Regions from separate parts of the Homo sapiens genome. Here region 1 is linked to region 2. The links are contacts of gene promoters, found by promoter capture Hi-C in blood cells and fetal thymus (Javierre and others, 2016). All regions are on one chromosome and are shown on one strand. Each heading gives the region's core, a stretch centred on a gene start or on the middle of the fragment in contact. The rest is flanking DNA. Distances are from core to core; before and after follow the strand shown.

The links. Contacts are between HindIII fragments. The CHiCAGO score rates a contact against its expected background, and 5 or more counts as called.
Region 1: a fragment that was not itself captured here is called in contact with the fragment with the promoter of SDK2 in region 2 in 6 of 17 cell types (M1 macrophages, M2 macrophages, M0 macrophages and 3 more); the score reaches 9.1 in M1 macrophages.

What each region holds. Positions count from the first base shown.
Region 1 is chr17:74,177,909-74,182,240 of GRCh38, reverse strand. No RefSeq gene overlaps it. Among named protein-coding and RNA genes, the nearest start is that of RPL38, 24 kb to the left of the region's middle. RefSeq lists an enhancer at 1,698-2,274. The HindIII fragment of the contact is 6,389 bases long and covers 1-4,332 here.
Region 2 is chr17:73,641,943-73,645,987 of GRCh38, reverse strand. It overlaps SDK2 (sidekick cell adhesion molecule 2), which reads left to right and starts at 1,543. Exons shown (of 45, transcript NM_001144952.2): 1 at 1,543-1,963. The coding sequence starts at 1,900. It overlaps LOC124904054 (a long non-coding RNA gene), which reads right to left and starts at 514. Exons shown (of 2, transcript XR_007065893.1): 1 at 294-514; 2 at 1-167. The HindIII fragment of the contact is 5,171 bases long and covers 1-4,045 here.

The DNA of each region.
Region 1 (4,332 bases), core at 1,074-3,573, 540 kb before region 2:
GGATCAGGTGACCTGTAGTCCTTCCAGACTCATGACTCCATGGCCATGTGGCTGCAACAGGGTAAGTTCTGGGAGAATCGGAGGCTCCAGGCACTCTGTCTGCCATTTCCGAGCTTGGAGTTTGGCCAAGCATGTTGGGTGGGACCTGGGGGTCGTGATCCAAATGTGCGGAACCAGGAAGGCCTTCCAGCCCTTTTTGGGGGTTGCAGGGAAACAGGAGGGCCTGCTGAGGCCCTATACAAGAGGCCTTCCAATATAGGAGGCCCCCTAATGGGCAGACTGAGGCCTCTGAGGCCATGAGAAGCAGTTACATGGAGGAAACTTCCGGAAGGCAGAGCTTTCAGGCAGGGTCTGGAAGAGAAGGGAGGGAAGCCTGCAGGAGGAGGGAGGCAGAGGCTGGGGGCCAGAGGGCATTTCGGGACATCTCCACCATTATTTAACTTTCATTTTGCAACTCCACCATCACTCACTCTGAATGCAGATCATAAAAATTACAATTGATGTTTCAATTAGTTATAATTTACAGAGCGATTACATTTAATTTCTCTTTCATTGTATTTTAATGGCTTCAAATTTCTTGTTGATGAGATTCAGCCCCATGCTCTGAAGCTACAGGCCCAGGGTGGGGAGGGGGCTTGGTTCTTAAGGGGGCAGGTAGGCCTGCGGAGCTCTGGGGCCACTTGCTGCCTCGGTCTCCCCCAGCCAACCCAGCAGCCTCTCACCAGTCTTCCCAGCCTGGGGTGGGGAGTGGGAAGCAGGTAGAAGGAAAAGCTGCAGGGCCTGGGGATGGGGAGGCTTCGGGCCCTGCCCTGCAGCCATCTGTTTAAATGATGCTGCTAATGGAGAAGGAACATTTGCCTCTTCTTAACTAAGGATCCAGGGGAATGAGGTGGAGACAAGGGGAGGGGTGGGTGAGGAGCCCAGGAGAGAATCAATGATCTGTGCTCCTTTCTCAGGCTGGAGGAGCTGGAGACAGCCTGGGCTGGGAGCTCAGCAGCTCAGAGCCTAAAGTGCAGAGGAGAGAAACTGGGGAGAACAGAAGTTGAGCCTTTGCACAACTTCCATTTTCTTCGTGTGCCTAGCTCAGTGTGAGACAGCACAGGGGCACCCCTGGCGCTTAGTAAATATCAGACCAGTTGTTCACGTTTGTTCACGGGAACTCCTCAGGTGCAGTTCTTTGGAAGTGCAGTGTTCTTTGGAAGAAGTTCCTTGCAGACTCCTCTCCCTCCTCCTGCTCTTGGGTGACGATGGGCACTTGCTGCTGGCTGCAGAGGAAGGGCCCACCAAAGGCACTGACAGGGTGATGGTGGGCTTGGTAATTAGAGGTGGCCCAGGGCTGCGGGGACTTTCTGCAGCTTGGCAGCTGCTCACAACACAGTTGGCTTTGAAGAGGCTTCAAAGTGTCTCCCAGGAAGGTCCCCAAATCATCTGAAAAGCAGCCTGGAGTCTGTCAACTCTTGGGAGTGGGAGAAAGGCGAGAGCTTTGCTGGGCTTCGCAGGTGGGAGGCAGGAGTCAGTACGTCAAAGTCTCAGAAGCTGGGGACCTGGGGGGAGATTAGAGGTCCTGAATTAGGCTGTGGAACCACCTGCTGCCTGGAGAAGCTGCCTGGGATGGGCTCTGGATTTCTCTGTGGAGGGGGCTGGGAGGGCTGGAATGGGAGGAGTCAGGAGCTGGGCTCTCCATGTTTTGTGTCCACTCCTGGGCCTGGGGGCTGATGGGAGAGGCCTGATCTCAACACGTCTCTCCCCGCCCCGTGCCTCCGGGCAGCGGCCACCATCCTGCCCCAGCCCAGGTCTCCCGGCAGGGCCAGAGCAGGCAGCCCAGCAGTGAGGCTGCAGTGAGGAGCGGTGAGTGTGTGCACAGATTGCTTGCCAGCAAGGTGGAGGCCTTGCAAACTGTATCAAGGAAAGAAGAATGTTTCAAGGAATGAAATCTCAGCCTGGAAAAGAAGAAACTAGAAAGCTACTGCACTTTCTGACTTCCAAACAATTAAATTAGACAAGGAGCGCGAAGGCTCAGTGAGGGGTTGAACGTCCTCTTGACCCTGTCAAAATCTTAGGCCAAAAAAATGCCCGCTTGATCTCCAGCGCTTTGCCCGTTGCTCAGAAGCATTTAGCTTCCTGACGATTCCAGTGTTCTCAGCAGTGACTATCAAACACTCCAGCTTTTACTAATTAATCAGATTTTTTAACAAAGAAGAAAGAAAGAGGTCATGTATCAATTTTACTGAAGAATTCTTCCTTGTATTCAGAAATTCTTCTAACTATCTGAAGGGGACAGGCTGTTTAGCTTCTCTGGGCCTCAGTTTACTCATAAGTGGTTGATGGTGGTGGTGGTGGGGAGGTCCTAAAATCTCTGGACACTTTAGGGTCTGCCATGTCACACATGTGTGCAGGCTCTAGACAGACAGTTCAGGGAGGAGTGGTCCTGAGCCGAGTCTCTGCAGCAGAGTGGCGGCTGGTGGGCGTGGCTCTGGGAAGTGAGCTGACACCTCCACCAGGTGCTTTCCAGCCCCCTAAAACATCTGCCACCCCAGAAAATGGCACAGTGGACGACTTTTGGTCTTGGCCTCCTGGGTTCTTTTCTAAGAGCTGCCATCACAAATGATCACACATTTGTTGGCCTAAAACAGCAGAAATTGATACTCTCCCAGTTCTTCAGCACAGAAGTCTGAAATCCAGGTGTCGGAAGGGCTGTGCTCCCTCTGAGGCTCTAGGGGAGGGTCCCTTCTTGCCTATCCCAGTTGCTGGCGGGGCTCCTGGTGTCCCTCGGCTTGTGGCCACATCACTCGAGTCTCTGCCTCCATCCTCACGTGGTCTCCTTCCTGTGTCTGTGTGTTTCCTTTTTTGTCTCTTAAAAGGACATGCTCTCTGGATTTAGGACCCACCCTAATCCAGGATAATCTCTTCTTTTTTTTTTTTTTTTGAGACAGAGTCTCTGTTGCTCAGGCTGGAGTGCGGTGGCGCGATCTCGGCTCACTGCCACCTCTGCCTTCCAGGTTCAAGCGATTCTCTTGCTTCAGCCTCCCAAATAGCTGGTATTACAGCCACCACGTGTGCCACCACGCCTGGCTAATTTTTGTATTTTTAGTAGAGATGGGGTTTGGCCATGTTGGCCTGGCTGGTCTTGAACTCCTGGCCTCAGGTATCTGCCCACCTCAGCCTCTCAAAGTGTTGGTATTACAGGCGTCAGCCACCACGGCTGGCCCCCCAAAACACCCTTCAAAGAGATTATCAAGAGGATAATCTCTGCTTGATCCTCACCCTAACTACATCTGCAAAGACCCTATTTCCAAATTAGGTCACATCCTGAGGATCAGATGGAAGTGAATGTTTTGGGGGACACTGTTGAAACACTGCACTTTCTCGGCATGTCTCCTTCCCTCTTCCTGGTAAGATACCCTCCCTCATTTGGAAGATTCTTCTGTCCTACTTCCCATTGCACACAATTCTGATGGGCAGGTAGTAACAGTGTCCTTTCCCCTCCCCTTGACCACAGGGGCAGACATGTGTGCCCTGGGACATTGTACCTGTCTCTCAGGCCTTAAGAATGGACAGGAGGTTGGGCAGTGGGGACTCAGGGATCGGAACTGGTCCAGACAGAGTCATTCCTGAGATTTAGATATTCCTCAAGATATGTCCGGGCACAGTGGCTCACGCCTGTAATCCCAGTACTTTGGGAGGCCAAGGCGGGTGGATCTTCTGAGGTCGGGAGTTCAAGACCAGCCTGGCCAACATAGCAAACCCCCATCTCCACTAAAAAAGCATAAAATTAGCCTGGCGTGGTGGCAGGTGCCTGTAATCCCAGCTACCTGGGTACTTGGGAGGCTGAGGCAGGAGAATCACTTGCACCCAGGAGGTGGAGGATGCAGTGAGCTGAGATTGCACCATTGCACTCTAGCCTGAGCAACAGGATCAAAACGCTGTCTCAAAAAAAAAAAAAAAAGATATGTTCAACAGGAGAGGGAGAGGGAGCCTCTGGGATCCTGTGCTAGGATCGTGCAAGCCTGGAAGAGCCTGTGGCCATCTCCCTTCCTCCTGCTGCATGAAGGCAGCTGGTATGCAGAAGGGCAGGCTAGGACCAGCAACAAACAGAAGCAGAGTCTGGAGATGGGGATATGGGCATGGCAGGGGGCTAAGGAAAACAGAATAAAAGGATGGGAAAACCAGATGTGGTCATCCAGGCCTGCCAGCACCTGACTCCGTTCTCTTTCTTACCCTCAATCCGCACCTGCCAGCACCCAACTCTGCTCTCTCTGCCTGTGCAGCTCCCTTCTCTACTCCAGTGAATCCGAGTTGCTGTTCTGTCCCTTGCCACAGAAACCTGACGGA
Region 2 (4,045 bases), core at 294-2,793:
GAAGGCACCTGAAATTTTCCCAGTGCCCGGGAAATTTTAACAGAAGCCTGTTAACCCCAGCTGAGCTTCGTGGAGTAGGCGCTAGCTCTGGGCCACAGCAGAGGACGCCTCCGGGCTCTCTTGTTTGAATTCCTCCACCAATGTCCGGTTCTTCTACTCTTTACAAGCTGGGCTCCGAAGGAAAAAAGAAGAAACAAAGAACGCACGCTCCTTGGCACCAACTTCACTTTCTCAGGCTTCTGCAGGTCCCAGGCCTCCCGATGTCTCCCCCTCCGCCCTGAGCATTTCCAGACCTTGGAGAGCCTGACTTGGGAAGGGGAAACTGGAATCAATCGGTTGACCGACCCCCTTTTCCCAACCGCCGCCTCCCCACCAATCACTCCATGTCCGGAAGGGGGCTGGGGGCTCCCGACTATAGGAGACTCTGGGAGTCCTATGAGGCCTTTGAGACAGGGGCGCGAGCGAGGCTGGAAGGAAAGGCTGGGCAGAGAGCGGAGGGGCTCGCGCGCATCTCTCCCGGCGCGGCAGAAGGTTGGCACTGCTGCCCCCCTGCGGGTCCCAGAGCCGCTGGGCGCCCGCGGCCGCGCAGTCGGATTGTATTTCTGCGGGGCTCGCTCCCGGGCCTGGCTCGGGGCCGCCGCCGCCGCCGCCGCCCCTCCCGGCGCGCAGGCTGCTCTCCAGTCGCGGCCACGGGGTAGCGCTCGGCCCCCCTCTCCGCGTCTCCGCCTCCGCCGCGCTCGTCCCCGGCTCACGCTGCCCCCGCAGCTCCGGCTCGGCGCAGGCAGGAGCGGCTCTCTGGACGCCGAGCCCGGGAAGCGGAGGGCGGCGGGCTCGGCGAGCGGCAGCGGCGGCCGAGGCGCTGGGGCGGCCGTTGCTCCTCCGGCCCGGGAGGTCGGCGATCGCCGGGCGTCCGAAGGGGCGCCGCGTCCCCGGAGCCGGGGCTGCCCGCCGGGCTCTCCGTGCGTCTTCCCGAGAGCTCCGGCCGGGGCGCGGCGGAGGGCAGAGCCGCCGGTCTCCATCCTCGGGCCGGCAGGAGGCTCTGCGCCCGGGCGCCGGCGACAGCCCGCGTCGCGAAGCCCAGCACCCTCCCCCGCCGCCCCGCGGCTGGCGCGGACATGGGCGCTCAGGGCTGCGCGCCCGGCTCCGGGACCCGCAAAGTTTGCTAGCCGGCTGGGCGCGGAGCCGAGGGCGCGCCCGGCCCCAGCGCCCCCGGAGGAGACCCGGCGTCTCCCGATTCGGCGCGAGGGCGGTGGAGCCCAGAGGGGGTGGTTCGGCCCCGCCAGATGCTGCCTGCAAAGTTAGAGAGAAGAAAACTTCAGCTCCAGGGAGATTCGGACCGCTATGCTCACCGCGTCCCCCGAAACCGGCGCCCCTAAAAGAACCCCCGCACCCGCGTCTGCCACTGCGCTCGGCTCTGGCCGGGTCCCGGGGGCCCGGCGCCTGGAACGGCGGTGACTGCGTCGGCCGGGAGAACCCAACCAGGGGGCGGGGAGGGGGCGGGCAACGTGGCCACGGGAGGAAGTTTCCTGAAGTTGTCCATTTATTCCGGAGCTCGGCCGGCGACCCGGCCGGATCGCAGAGGCCGCCCTGTTTGGGAGAAGTCGGAGTTGGGGTGCTAAGGGAGAGAGGCGCCCTAGTCCGAGAGGGCGGCCTGGCCTCTTTCTCCCTGCTCGCCCCTCGCCTTCCGGGCGCGCTGCCGGGCTCGGACTAGTACAGAAGAGGAGGAAGGGTTGGGGTAGCCAAGCGCTGCCCCTCCCGGGCATATTACACCCCGGGGCACGGAGCCGCGTAGACTGACTGTTTCCTGGGACTAAGCCACGGGGTATCGGACCCCACCAGGATTATAAAACAGGGCGGAGGGAAGGGAGACCCCGAGGACCCCTCTCCAGGCTGGTCACCATGTGGGGGCTTTTGATCTGGACACTGCTAGCTCTGCATCAGATCCGCGCGGCCAGAGCCCAAGGTAAGGAGGGACCCCCACGTGGGGACAGGGAGGGGGCTGGGAGAGTGGGCGGGGGAGGGGCGGCGGGAGCTGGCCGGCCTCACGGTGACCTCCTGGACACCCGGCTTAGCCGTGGCAGAGCCCTCTCCAGGGAGTTTCAAGACACCCCATCTCCCAAGTTTTGGGGCTCTTTTGGGGGTGGGGCAGTCTCTCCGAGACTTGTGGCTTCCGAATGGGGGAAGGTGGGGACGACCTGGGGAGGCAGAGAAGAGCCCAAGGTGAAGTGGGAGGGGCGCTCCCCTCCCCCCGTCTGCTGTGGCTGCCCTGCGCCGGCTTGGGAGGGGAGCGACATTCCGTGCCGGGCTCCACGCTCGGCTACGCTGAGCTTCCCAGACCGAGCTCCTGGTTCCCTGCTCGGTGTCTGCGGGGAAGGGCAGGGCCCCTGCCGGGCAGGCGATGGCCTCCCCGGGGCGAGGGAGTGGGGTGGGCGAGCGCTGGATGCCGGGTTGCTCGCCCGGGGAGAGCAATTGCCCGGCTTGGCCACGTACGGGAGCCCGCCCCTGGCTGCTCGGCCAGCCGCTGGGGCTGGGGGTGCTTCGCTGCGCGGGCCTGGAGCCAAGGTCGCGGGTGCAGCCGCGGACCCACCGGGGGGTGGTGCACAGGGAGGGTCTGAGGCCTCCCCTCCTACCCATCCACCCACACCCAGCATCCCCGCCCCTGCCTCCAGCCTCCGCTGTTCGCTCGATAGTCTGTGCAGCCGCTCGCTGCTGTGACCTGTGGCTGCCGGGAGCAGCCTCGCGGTGGAGAAGGGCTGGTGGCTTTGGGTTTGGGAGTGCTACGAAGGATCCGAGGTGTGATCTGCGCTGCCCGCTTCCTGAGGGTGGATGCCCAGACGTCCCCCTGGTCCCCGGGCAGGTCCCCGAGGTGAAGGGCGGCTGCACCGGCGGTTCCTCGACTTTGGGGTTCGCCGATCCAGACAGTGGTGTCAGCGGTGTCCGAGCGGCGCCTGCTGGGGGCGGAGGGAGACGAAGCCTGGACCGAGCTCCAGGACTCGCAGGGCTAGGCCTTCACTCTCGCAGGCTCAGGAGGGGGCCAGACCCACCCTAGGGGTCCGGACTGTGGGGGCTGCAACCCACTCCCCACGCCGCCTCGTGCGCCAGGCAATCCAGAGAGCCAAGATCAAAGAGATGAAAATAATCAGCTCTCACTCACAGGGCTGAGGGGAGGATTTTACGAGGTAATTTACATAAAAGCACTTCGAAATTTTGTAACGAGCCCTATAAATGTAGGGTAATAAAAGTTATTATTTTTATGATCATCATAAAATCTTTGAACAAGCGAGGACCTCAGAGGTCATCTTATTCTAGTAGCCATTTAACAGATAGGGAAACTGAGGCCAAATGGCATTAAATGACTTGCCCAAGGCCACTCTGTGATCTGGGGGCAGAGGCAGGTCTGGAACCAGATGAGTTCTGAGCCTCTCTCCCTCAAACCAGGACTAGCTGCATGGGGTCTCCTTGGTCTGGGCCCCCTCTCTGAGGGGTCCCAGGAGGACCCTGATGCTGGCAGAATAGGAATGGGTTGTCCTTCATCCTGGAGCAGCCTCACAGTTGTGCTCTGGGACAACCAGTGTTACTAGCCAAAAGCCTGGACGGCGTGGAGGGACGGGATGCCAGCATCTGTCTGGACCCTTCTAACTTCATTGCTCTACAGACTTTTCAACAATGGTATGATTTCCCTGGGCAGGTGGCTCACCAATTCTTGTCTCATCTAGGACCAGGCCCTTATAGAGTCCCCAGGGCACCTGATGGCCCTTGCTTTGGGGTCTTCATGTGTCCCTTCCTGCCCCACGTCCACACCTGTGCCATCCACTTGAGGCCAAGATCCCACCCCTCCTGCTGAAGTTAAGGCCAGGTGGCCCCCTGTCCCTGCGCCTCCTGCGGGAGGGGCTTCCCTGTCAGAAGCAGAGAAAGTCTCTGTGATTGATTCACTTCCTCTCTGCCTTTCTTGTTTGCTGGCTTTTTGCGTGTCAGGCTGCCCAGGTCCCCTGCTGCTCCGCTCGTGTTCTCTGGCTCCGAGAGTGTTTTCCAGCATCGAGCCCTC